Linked DNA regions of Homo sapiens: regions 1 and 3 are each linked to region 2. The links are contacts of gene promoters, found by promoter capture Hi-C in human tissues and cell types (Jung and others, 2019). All regions are on one chromosome and are shown on one strand. Each heading gives the region's core, a stretch centred on a gene start or on the middle of the fragment in contact. The rest is flanking DNA. Distances are from core to core; before and after follow the strand shown. Region 1 overlaps TP53 (tumor protein p53). Region 2 holds the start of ZBTB4 (zinc finger and BTB domain containing 4). Region 3 holds the start of ATP1B2 (ATPase Na+/K+ transporting subunit beta 2).

Region 1 (3,540 bases), core at 1,041-3,540, 190 kb after region 2:
CAGTGGCGCCATCTTGGCTCCCTGCAACCTCCGCCTCCTGGTTCAAGCGATTCTCCTGCCTCAGCCTCCCAAGTAGCTGGGATTACAGGCACCTGCCATCACGCCCGGTTAATTTTTGTATTTTAGTAGAGACGGGGTTTCACCATGTTGGCTAGGCTGGTCTTGAACTCCTGACCTCAGGTGATCCACCCGCCTCAGCCTCCCGAAATGCTGGGATTACAGGCGTGAGCCAGTGCGCCTGGCCTTTTCTTTTTTTGAGTCTCGCTCTGCGCCCAGGCTGTGCCTGGCTCGACTGTGCCTCCTTTCATGCAACCATGCTGTTTCTCACTTTCAGTAACAATATTCAATAAATCACATGAGATATACAACATTTTATTACTATAAAAAGGGCTTTGTGTTAGATGACTTTGCCCAACTGTAGGGTAACTTAAATGCTCTGAACACGTTTCAAGTAGGCTAGGGCTGAGTGTGGTAGCTCATGCCTGTAACCCCAATACTTGGGGAGGCTGAGGTGGAAGGATTGATTGAGCCCAGGGGTTTGATACCAGCATGGGCAACGTAGCAAGACCTTGACTTCACAGAAAATAAAAAATTAGCTGGGTGTCGTGGCATGTGCCTGTAGTCCTAGCTACTTGGGAGGGTGAAATCACCGGAGCCCAGGGAGGTCAAGGCTGCAGTGAGCTGAGATGGTGCCACTGCACTCTAGCCTGAGTGACAGAGTGAGACTCTGTCTTTAAATAAATAAATAAAAATTAGCCGGGCGTGGTGGCTCACACCTGTAATCCCAGCACTTTGGGAGGCCGAGGCGGGCGGATCACATGGTCAGAAGTTCGAGACCAGCCTGGCCAACATGGTGAAACCCTGTCTCTACTAAAAATACAAAAATTAGCTGGGCGTGGTAGCAGGCGCTTGTAGTCCTAGCTATTCGGGAGGCTGAGGCAGGAGAATCACTTGAACCCAGGAGGCAGAGGTTGCAGTGAGCCGAGATCATGCCACTGCACTCCAGCCTGGGCGACAGAGTGAGACTGAGTCTCAAAAAAATAAAATAAAATAAAATAAAAATAAATAAATAAAAATTAGCCAGGCATGGTGGTGCAGGCCTGTAGTTGAAGCAACTTGGGAGGCTGAGCTGGGAGGATGGATGGAGCCTGGGAGGTGGAGGCTGCAGTGAGCTGTGACTGCACTACTGCACTCTATCCAGCCTGGGTGACAGAGCAAGACCTTGTCTCAAAAAAGTAGGCTAGAGACCAGCCTGGGCAACATAGTGAGACTCTATCTATCTACAAAAAATTTTAAAAATTAGCTGGGTATGGTGGTGTATGCCTGTGGTCCTAGCTACTGGGGAGGCAGAGTTAGGGGGATTGCTTGAGCCCAGGAGGGTATAATGAGCTATGATCACATCACTGTAATCCAGCCTGGGCAACAGAGCAAGATGCTGTCTCCATTAAAAATAAAATAAAAGTAGGCTAGGCAGGCCGGGTGCGGTGGCTCACGCCTGTAATCCCAGCACTTTGGGAGGCCAAGGCAGGCAGATCACAAGGTCAGGAGTTCGAGACTAGCCTGGCCAACATGGTGAAACCTCATCTCTACTAAAAAAAAAAATAAATAAATAACAAAAAATTAGCTGGGCGTCGGGGCAGGTGCCTGTAATCCCAGCTACTCAGTGGGCTGAGGCAGGAGAATCGCTTGAACCCAGAAGGCGGAGGTTGCAGTGAGCCGAGATCCCGCCACTGCACTCCAGCCTGGGTGACAGAGTGAGACTCTGTCTCCAAAAAAAAAAAAAAAAAAAGCAGGCTAGGCTAAGCTATGATGTTCCTTAGATTAGGTGTATTAAATCCATTTTCAACTTACAATATTTTCAACTTACGACGAGTTTATCAGGAAGTAACACCATCGTAAGTCAAGTAGCATCTGTATCAGGCAAAGTCATAGAACCATTTTCATGCTCTCTTTAACAATTTTCTTTTTGAAAGCTGGTCTGGTCCTTTAAAATATATATTATGGTATAAGTTGGTGTTCTGAAGTTAGTTAGCTACAACCAGGAGCCATTGTCTTTGAGGCATCACTGCCCCCTGATGGCAAATGCCCCAATTGCAGGTAAAACAGTCAAGAAGAAAACGGCATTTTGAGTGTTAGACTGGAAACTTTCCACTTGATAAGAGGTCCCAAGACTTAGTACCTGAAGGGTGAAATATTCTCCATCCAGTGGTTTCTTCTTTGGCTGGGGAGAGGAGCTGGTGTTGTTGGGCAGTGCTAGGAAAGAGGCAAGGAAAGGTGATAAAAGTGAATCTGAGGCATAACTGCACCCTTGGTCTCCTCCACCGCTTCTTGTCCTGCTTGCTTACCTCGCTTAGTGCTCCCTGGGGGCAGCTCGTGGTGAGGCTCCCCTTTCTTGCGGAGATTCTCTTCCTCTGTGCGCCGGTCTCTCCCAGGACAGGCACAAACACGCACCTCAAAGCTGTTCCGTCCCAGTAGATTACCACTACTCAGGATAGGAAAAGAGAAGCAAGAGGCAGTAAGGAAATCAGGTCCTACCTGTCCCATTTAAAAAACCAGGCTCCATCTACTCCCAACCACCCTTGTCCTTTCTGGAGCCTAAGCTCCAGCTCCAGGTAGGTGGAGGAGAAGCCACAGGTTAAGAGGTCCCAAAGCCAGAGAAAAGAAAACTGAGTGGGAGCAGTAAGGAGATTCCCCGCCGGGGATGTGATGAGAGGTGGATGGGTAGTAGTATGGAAGAAATCGGTAAGAGGTGGGCCCAGGGGTCAGAGGCAAGCAGAGGCTGGGGCACAGCAGGCCAGTGTGCAGGGTGGCAAGTGGCTCCTGACCTGGAGTCTTCCAGTGTGATGATGGTGAGGATGGGCCTCCGGTTCATGCCGCCCATGCAGGAACTGTTACACATGTAGTTGTAGTGGATGGTGGTACAGTCAGAGCCAACCTAGGAGATAACACAGGCCCAAGATGAGGCCAGTGCGCCTTGGGGAGACCTGTGGCAAGCAGGGGAGGCCTTTTTTTTTTTTTTTTGAGATGGAATCTCGCTCTGTCGCCCAGGCTGGAGTGCAGTGGCGTGATCTCAGCTCACTGCAAGCTCCACCGCCCAGGTTCACGCCATTCTCCTTCCTCAGCCTCCCGAGTAGCTGGGACTACAGGTGCCCAGCACCACGCCCGGCTAATTTTTTTTTGTATTTTTCAGTAGAGACGGGGTTTCACCGTTAGCCAGGATGGTCTCGATCTCCCAACCTCGTGATCCGCCTGCCTTGGCCTCCCAAAGTGCTGGGATTACAGGCATGAGCCACTGCGCCCAGCCAAGCAGGGGAGGCCCTTAGCCTCTGTAAGCTTCAGTTTTTTCAACTGTGCAATAGTTAAACCCATTTACTTTGCACATCTCATGGGGTTATAGGGAGGTCAAATAAGCAGCAGGAGAAAGCCCCCCTACTGCTCACCTGGAGGGCCACTGACAACCACCCTTAACCCCTCCTCCCAGAGACCCCAGTTGCAAACCAGACCTCAGGCGGCTCATAGGGCACCACCACACTATGTCGA
Region 2 (4,178 bases), core at 458-2,957:
ACCCTGCAAAGATTAGCTGGGCCATCTGACAACACCCATGCCTCCCGCCGGCCTCCATGCGCTACCCTGCATTTATCTCCCGCCTTCCTCATACCAAATCCCCTCCGCAGCCCCACCGCCACTTAAGCACACAGACGGCAGGCACGCACACACAGCCTGCTTGCGGCTGGCCTCTTGGGTCTGAGGCCCACACTGCCCTTGTCACGCCACCTCCCTCCCCACATGTGTTTTCTGACCAGTTTGCCTCCCAGCTCAGCAGCCCAGACAGGCTCCTACAAACAACGTCACAAAAGAATCCTGTGGAGAATGTTGCAAACACACAACCTTCCCCTCGCTTGGCTGCCCATGATCCCATAAACACAACTGGCGCATTCCACCTCGAGCCCCTCACACCAGTGCCAACTGACCCACAGGCCCCTGAGACATACCCCGGGGTTCCTCGCTCCTCTCATGATCTTTGGGATCTGAGTTCTAGACGCGCAGCCCCCATGCAACGCGCTCATCACAGACACGCAAACCCATCCATCGCCCTCTTCACCACTGGACCACACCTCAGCAGGGCCACAGAAATGGGACCCAGACGTGACGCCTTCTGACTCAAAGGCCCACAACCGCCCCCTCCAAAAGGGCACATACACTGCATCCTGGCACCCTCCGCAACACATACAGCATGCCAGCTCTGCAGAAAACAGTTCATAAACAGGTCATAGGTGCAGCACAAGACACACATGCGAGAAAACACATGCTGTAGAAAACATACAGCCCCACATCGAACAAACTCTGCACCCAGCATGCTGTGCCCTGCTCAGAATACCCATCTGTCACCCAAAGCCACAGGGCTCGTCTTGTAACTCTGCCCCACAACACTGGACACCCTTCCTGGCTTTCTATCTCCATGGCCCAGGGAGGGCCCTACCCAGACCCCTGGCTGCCAGCAAACGGTGGTGCCCAGGAGAGGTTTACCTTGCCCCACCACACAGCACAAGACACACGATCTCCAAGACTCACAGCCACAACCCTGCCCCGACGGCGCGGCGGTTCCGGGGCCCCAGCTCGCCCTGCGCACCCCGCACACCCCAACTCTGGGGCGCTCGGCGGCCCACCCCTCCCCCTCTCTGCCTGGCTCCTACGCCATCACCCTCCCAGCAGCTTGCAGCGCTTGCCCGGGCTCACACCCGCCCCACCCCACCCCCAATCTGCCCCACGGGGGGAGGGGGCCATTAGGCTGCAGAATTAACCCTTCAAAGAGGGAGTGAGCACCTCCCCTTCCACGGCCCCAGGCGATCGCGTCCCACGGCCGCCCCTCGCTCGGACGCCATACCAGGGCCCCCTTAGTCGCCCCCCAGCGTCGTGCGCGCCCGGGGGCGGGGCCAGGCTCAGCCCCCGACCCCTGCGCCCCCAGGTCAACCCCAAAGGAGAGCGGTCTGGGCGCGGGGCGCGGTCGGGGCTCCCGCAGCGCCGGGCAGCGGAGAGGGGGCCTGGCAGTTGGCTCCGGTCCGCCCTGGCCCTGCCCAGTTCGCCCCAGGGCCCACCTGACTGCGATGGCGCCGCGTCCGCCAGGCCCGGCTCATCACCGTGGCCGCCCCCGGCCGCTCCGGTTTTGCCCGCCTCCAGCTCCGGCTCCGGCTCCAGCTCCGGCCCTGGCCCCCCCAGCGCCTGGCCCCGGCCCGGCCCCGCTGCCGCCGCCGCCGCCGCCGCTGACATCATCGGCTCCCCCCGCCCCGGTCCTACCCCCACCCCCACCCCCGGAAACAGTCCCCCCCCAGCGCCGCCGCCGCCGCCGCCGAGAGGAGGCCGGCGCAGCGCAGCCGACACCGACACAAAGCTCCGAGCGCCCGACGGCCTTCCCCAGGACTGACCCCCGCGGCATGACACTGCGCCGCGCTGGGCCACCGGGCGGGTGGACACCGAGCGGGGCGCGGGCCGGGCTGCAGCATCCCGGCAGGGGCGCAAGACCACCGACCCCCAGGGAAAGGGCTCCCTCCGCCCTTCCTCCTGCACGCCCTTCACTCAGCGGTGCACACTGCCTGAAAGCATAACACACAGGCTCTCAGGGTGCAGACATGACATGGCAGACTCATAATCAGGCCCGGTGGGACTCACAGACCCAGGGTCGGCACACTCAAAGAGGGCCAGCCCTGGACACACACACACACCCTCTCCAGGAATGCGCAGGAAAGCTCAGCAGGCCGCGGAAAAAGAAGGCCCTGGCCCTGCATACGGGGCACACACGAACGACCACCAGCGCAAATGAACACATGAAGCTGGCTGGGTACTTTGTCCCCACCAGCAGATAGATCCACATCTGTATACTTGAACATAAATGCAGAGGCCTTGGTGTCGGCCTCTGGGGACAGCATCAACAAAACACCAGGTGGAAGCACACACAGAAAAAACACATTCCTGAAACTCCACAGGGACAATCCCAAGAACTCCTCCCTGGTGCTGGAAAATTAAAAACTAAGGAGATGGAGGAGCCAGGGTTCACAGCTCCTTGCCTTAAAACCTCTCTGAGGCTGGGCGCGGTGGCTCACGCCTGTAATCCCAGCACTTTGGGAGGCCGAGGTGGGCGGATCACGAGGTCAGGAGATCGAGACCATCCTGGCTAACACGGTGAAACCCTGTCTCTACTAAAAATACAAAAAAATTAGCCGGGCGTGGTGGCGGGCGCCTGTGGTCCCAGCTACTCGGGAGGCTGAGGCAGGAGAATGGCGTGAACCTGGGAGGCGGAGCTTGCAGTGAGCCGAGATCTCGCCACTGCACTCCAGCCTGGGCGACAGAGACAGACTCCGTCTCAAAAAAAAAACAACAACAAAAAAACCTCTCTGAAACCATGCAAGATATAAATAAACAAATTAATGTAAAGCCACAGAGCTAGCCATAAAAAGAATAAAAGAATCAGACAAACTTTGGAGTCATGGAGACATAAATAGAAAAGAAGCAGAGTTGGGCTGGGCACGGTGGCTCATGCCTGTAATTCCACCACTTTGGGAGGCGGGGGGTGGTGGGGTGGATCACTTGAGGTAAGGAGTTCAAGACCAGCATGGCCAACATGGAGAAACCCCATCTCTACGAAAAATAAAAAATTAGCGGGGTGTGGTGGCACATGCCTGTAATCCCAGGTACTTGGGAGGATGAGGTAGGAGAATTGCTTGAACCCAGGAGGTGGAGGTTGCGGTGAGCCGAGATTGCACGCACCACTGCACTCCAGCCTGGGCAAGAAGAGCAAAACTCCGTCCCAAAAAAAAAAAAAAAAATTAGCCAGGTGTAGTGGCACATTCTTGTAATCCCAGCTACTTGGGAGGCTGAGGCAGGAGAATCGCTTGAATCTGGGAGGTGGAGGTTGCAGTGAGATGAGATCACACCATTGCACTCCAGCCTGGATAACAAGAGTGGAAACTTCGTCGCAAACAAAAAAAGAAAGAAAGAAAGAAAAGAAGCAGAGTTGGACTCAGCGGGAAAATAGGCGTGCTACCACCTCAGGAGAGTTCCAGGGAAGAACCCCACCCCCACTCCAACCATGTCACAATGGCTGGAGCTCTGAGGGGCCCAGGCTCCCTGAGCCAGGAGGAGAGGAGAAAGTCCAAGGAAAGATGGTGAGTGTGGGGGCCAGGGGCCTAGTACTCCCTCCCTATAGCTCCTGGTTGCTCCATTTCCCCTCCTTTCCTAAAACTTAGCTGTCTCAGAGATACCCACAAATAGAATTCATAATGGTGTACCCAGATGTCTCTGGAACCTGTGGCATCATACAGATGCATAGCATCTGAGGCTTCCTCCCCTTCCTCAATCCGAGAGAGCATCCTGGGTCCTTTTTCTCCTCCCAGGAACAACTTACCCAGGGAAACGATGCTCCAGGACTGCTCACTCCTTGCTTCCTGCTCCAGGCCCACATTATAACATCTCACTCATCTTTTAGGCCCTTTCTAGCTCCGAAGAGTTCCTCAGCAAGATAGCCCAACACTGTACAGTCCCACAGGGTCCCAGACCCCATCCTGGCATCTGCCCTGCCCCAGGTCGCCTGGGCTGCGGCTGCTGTCTACCCTGAGCTCCTTTCTCCCTAACAGGCTGGCAGTCACCCCTACTTGAACCCGCCTGACTCCACACACCCATCGCCGCCCTCCGCTCCACCCAGCCTCCGCTGGCACCAGTGCTGCCAGCCCTCTGATGCCACCAATGGC
Region 3 (4,483 bases), core at 1,705-4,204, 170 kb after region 2:
TTGTGATTTCAGCACTTTGGGAGGCTGATGTGGGTGGATCCCTTGAGTCCAGGAGTCCAGGAGTTCCACACCAGCCTGGCCAACACGGCAAAACCCTGTCTCTAGTAAAAATACAAAAATTAGCCGGGCATGGTGGCCTGTGCCTGTAATCCCAGCTACTCAAGAGGCTGAGACAGAAGAATTGCTTGAACCTGGGAAGTGGAGGTTGCAGTGAGCCAAGATCGCGTCACTGCACTCCAGTCTGGGTGACATAGCAAGACCCTGTCTCTAAAACAAAAAACCATGAGAAGCTGAAAGAACTATGGATGAAAGGAAAATAGTTTAGGCTGGGTGCGGTTGTTCACACCTGTAATCCCAGCACTTTGCGAGGCCAAGGTAGGTGGATCATTTGAGGTCAGGAACTCAAAACTAGCCTGGCCAACATGGTGAAATCCCATCTCTACAAAAAAATACAGAAATTAGCCGGGCGTGGTGGTAGTCCCAGCTACCCGGGAGACTGAGGGAGGAACCGCTTGAACCCTGGAGGCAGAGGCTGCAGTGAGCAGATATCATGCCACTGCACTCCAGCCTGGGTGACACAGTGAGACTCTGTCTCCAAAAAAAAAAAAAAAAAAAAAAAAAAAAAAAGTTTATATTTTAGTGCCTCTAAGGGCATTTTTTCCCCTAGGTTTTGAACAAGGGTCCCTGCATTTCCATTTTGCACTGGATCCTGACAATTATGCAGCTGGCCATGCTTCAGTCTATTCTGCAGCAGATTCGGGATTAATTTTCTCAAAATACAGCTTTAATTAGGCCACTCCTCAGCTGAAAGTTCTTCAGTGGCTTCTTATTAGCCTGTAGGATAGAGTCCTGATTCTTCAGTCTAACCTGCAGGGTACTCCGCAATCCACACCCATGCTGTGTCCCCAACCTCCTTTCCCACTAGTCTCCGACTAGTTCTCTCCTGGAGCCAAGCCAGCCACTCCTGGGGTAGACTGTGCTTACTCCTGACTTCACACCTCTGTGCCTTTCATTCCTTTGTCCTGGAAGACTACCTACCCTTCAGAGGCCAGCCCCAACTCCCATTCATTCATTCATTCATTCAATGCATACCATTTTTTTGAGATGGAGTTTTGCTCTTGTCCAGGCTGGAGTGCAGTGACACAATCTCGGCTCACTGCAACCTCCACCTTCCAGGTTCAAGCAATTCTCTTGCCTCAGCCTCCTGAGTAGCTGGGATTACAGGCTCCCACCACCGCACCCGGCTAATTTTTTTAGTTTTAGTAGAGACGCAGTTTCACCATGTTGGCCAGGCTGGTCTTGAACTCCTGACCTCTGGTCTCGAACTCCCTTGCTCAGGTGATCCATTGGCCTCGGCCTCCTATAGAGCTGGGATTACAGGCATGAGCCACTGGGCCTGGCCGAGATAATGATTTTTTTTTTCTCTCTTTTTTTGAGACGAAGTCTCACTCTATTGCCCAAGCTGGAGTGCAATGGCGTGATCTCAGCTCACTGCAAGCTCCGCCTCCCGGGTTCAAGCAATTCTCCTGCTTCAGCCTCCTGAGTAGCTGGGACTACAGGCACCCACCACCATGCCCAGCTAATTTTTTTTTTTTTTTTTATTGAGACGGAAGCTCTGTTGCCCAGGCTGGAGTGCAGTGGAGCGATCTCGGCTCACTGCAAGCTCCGCCTCCCGGGTTCATGCCATTCTCCTGCCTCAGCCTCCCAAGTAGCTGGGACTACAAGCTCCCGCCACGACGCCCAGCTAATTTTTTTTTTTTGTATTTTTAGTAGGGACGGGGTTTCACTGTGTTATCCAGGATGGTCTCGATCTCCTGACCTCGTGATCCACCCACCTCGGCCTCCCAAAGTGCTGGGATTACTGGCGTGAGCCACCGCGCCTGGCCTAATTTTGCATTTTTAAGTAGAGACGGGGTTTCACCATGTGGGCAAGGCTAGTCTCGAACTCCTGACTTCGTGATCTGCCCGCCTCGGCCTCCCAAAATGCTGGGATTACAGGCATAAGCCACCGTGCCCGGCTTGAGATAATGATTCTTAACATGTGGTATGTAGAGCAAGTGTACTCCCGCCCTAGACTGTGAGCCCCGTGAGAGATGTGGCTTCAGTGTAACCTCTCTGGCCTCCCCAGGGCTACAGCACACAGTCTATAGAGGTGCTCAATAAATGTTTGTTGACCCAAGTAGACACATAAGGAGGTGAGTTCCGACGTGGGGGTGGGGGTGCCAGGAGGCAGAGAACCGAAGTAGACCTGGCTGCAGGGCTGGGATCTCAGGGCAGTGCTGGGGACTGGGAATGTGGTGTTGAGAGGGCTTCAGGGAGACGTGATGGGAAGATGGGGAAGCCTCTGCACGTGGACAGAGCCAGGTGGTGTGGACAGGGGCTGTGAGATTGGAGAAGGAGGCGTCTGGGGGACTGGTAGCGGCTCCCAACAGGGGAACGTCCCTCTGGGGGTGGCCTTTATCCATCTCTGCGGGGCCTGTCCTAGCTTCCCTCCTGGCTCGGCCAGCCTCCCGGCTGGTCTCTTCGCTCTCTTTCTTGATCTCTAGCTCTTTATTCCTCTGACATTCTGCCCCATCTGCTCCCGGACTCTTCCGCCGCATCTGTATCTTAGTCTCTTTCTAACTCCCTGCCTGGGGCCCCCACCTTTGAGCATATATCGGCTTCTCTCTCTGCCGTTGTGTTTCTCTGGGGTTATCTTTCCCTCTACTCCGCCCGGACACGCCCTCTATCTCTTCCTCCCACCCTGTCCCAGTCTAGTACCTGGGGTGGGGGTAATGGAGAGACAGCTAGGTCCCTAAGAGAAGTCAGGGGGGCGGGCCCAACCTCTCCATATTTACATATGTATGAGGTCGCCTGGGCCAGTGGCGAGGAGGCGGAGCTTCTGGGGGTGGGAAGGGGGCGGGCACCCCCAGAGCCGCAGAGTATAAAGACCGCGCTCGGCGACCGCGGGCCTCGCACTGCTGAGGAGCGGAGCCTCCGCCTGGGGGGCCCCCCATCCCTGGCTGTCCCCCAGCTGCGCGTCCCCGCCCCACCCCCGCGGCTGAGCCACCACCGGTGCAGTGGTCTCCGCTTGGCGGAGCGAGCCTTGAGCTTCGTTCCACAGCTTCTTTGCATCTTGGATTTCGGGGCGGCCCCCTCCCCCACCTCTCTCTGCCTTTTTGTACCCCGCTTTTTTTCTGCGTTCTGCTCGGTTTTTGTAGCCGTCTGTTTTTGCACCCCATTTCGTTTTGTTTCTAGACGGTTTGGTGGGGGGTGAAGCTGCATTCATACCCCTTCCTCTTGTTATTCTCCCCTGCTCTGACAGCACCCCTTTTCATCGCAGTTGGGGGGCCTAGGATCGGTGCATCTTCCGCCGCGCTGCCAGCACCCCGCAGCGCGTGGTCGTGCACCCCGGAATCTGCAGCAGCTGCATATCTGAGGGGGGTCTCCTTTGCCCGCGCCGCCTTCGCTCCCCGTGCTTTTGGGTGTGTGGAGGGCTTCAGCGCGCGGCGCCCCCGCTTCTCCGCAACCCCCCGCCCCGCGCCCGGACTCGCCCCGCGCCACCAAGATGGTCATCCAGAAAGAGAAGAAGAGCTGCGGGCAGGTGGTTGAGGAGTGGAAGGAGTTCGTGTGGAACCCGAGGACGCACCAGTTTATGGGCCGCACCGGGACCAGCTGGGGTACGCAGGGCCGGCACGCAAGGGGCGGGGGAAAGCCGCGGGGCGACGCCTCGGGGGCGCAGGGTCCCGCCGACGCGGCCCCAGCTCCCCTCCCGGGTCCCCGGCGTCCAGCCTCCCTGCCGGGCTCTGGGCTGGGAGGGGGCCGAATCGCCAGTCTAATCTCCCCGGCTGGCCGTGCGGAGGCGGAGAAAGTAGGTCACAGCCGCCTTCCCGCCCCCCGCGGAGCCCCCTCGGGCGGGGGGTCGCCAGCTCCGCCTGCGTGTCCGCGCCGGCGCTCACACTCCCTCTCGGGGCCTGTCCGCTCCACACGGGCGTCCCCCACCTCCAAAGAGCGCCCCTTCCCTCCCTCCGGCTCTCACTAGCTCCGCAGCCCCGTCTATTTTTAGCTCGTGCCCACCCCCTGGACCCTGGGAACGTTCATGAGGGGGCGGGTCTTGGGGGGTGTGTTAGGGGGGTTCTTCACGGCGGAAGTTGTCTGTATCCCACCGCCTGGCCTTGGGAGCCTTCTGGGACTGCTTTGTGGGTTGGGGGGCTGCTGATAGTATGAGTTTTACCGAGGCTGCAGGTTTTGCTCCCATGTCGGTGACGGAGGGAGGAGTGGTCGCTGTGGTGATTTGTGTGCATCAGCCAGCCAGGTGTCTGTGACAGTCGGATGACTTGGAAGCCTCCCCAGGCTGACCATGGCAGGACTCAGGGAGCTGTAGTGGTCGGGGGTTGGGGGGGTGGAGGGGGTCTGGTGACCGGCACAGGTGCAGGTGAGGGGTGGAATTCTTCCAAGAGGGATGGTCAAGCTGGGACGTTGAGACACAGGGGACAGAGGACAC

What was found. Contacts are between HindIII fragments. The study calls those that stand out against the background at their distance.
Region 1: a contact is called between a fragment that was not itself captured here and the fragment with the promoter of ZBTB4 in region 2, in 1 of the 25 tissues and cell types used here (adrenal gland).
Region 3: a contact is called between the fragment with the promoter of ATP1B2 here and the fragment with the promoter of ZBTB4 in region 2, in 1 of the 25 tissues and cell types used here (mesenchymal stem cells).

The regions. Positions count from the first base shown.
Region 1 is chr17:7,671,356-7,674,895 of GRCh38, forward strand. TP53 (tumor protein p53) reads right to left here. Exons shown (of 11, transcript NM_000546.6): 6 at 3,504-3,540; 7 at 2,826-2,935; 8 at 2,346-2,482; 9 at 2,180-2,253. Among named protein-coding and RNA genes, the nearest start is that of TP53, 14 kb to the right of the region's middle. The HindIII fragment of the contact is 4,764 bases long and covers 1-3,540 here.
Region 2 is chr17:7,477,924-7,482,101 of GRCh38, forward strand. It overlaps ZBTB4 (zinc finger and BTB domain containing 4), which reads right to left and starts at 1,708. Exons shown (of 4, transcript NM_001128833.2): 1 at 1,533-1,708. It overlaps SLC35G6 (solute carrier family 35 member G6), which reads left to right and starts at 3,523. Exons shown (of 2, transcript NM_001102614.2): 1 at 3,523-3,596; 2 at 4,065-4,178. The coding sequence starts at 3,594. RefSeq lists silencers at 1,015-1,064, 1,325-1,784, 1,805-2,064. The HindIII fragment of the contact is 10,425 bases long and covers 1-4,178 here.
Region 3 is chr17:7,647,972-7,652,454 of GRCh38, forward strand. ATP1B2 (ATPase Na+/K+ transporting subunit beta 2) reads left to right here and starts at 2,955. Exons shown (of 7, transcript NM_001678.5): 1 at 2,955-3,659. The coding sequence starts at 3,548. RefSeq lists silencers at 1-118, 2,865-3,014 and enhancers at 1,607-2,107, 2,108-2,608, 2,883-3,525. The HindIII fragment of the contact is 20,754 bases long and covers 1-4,483 here.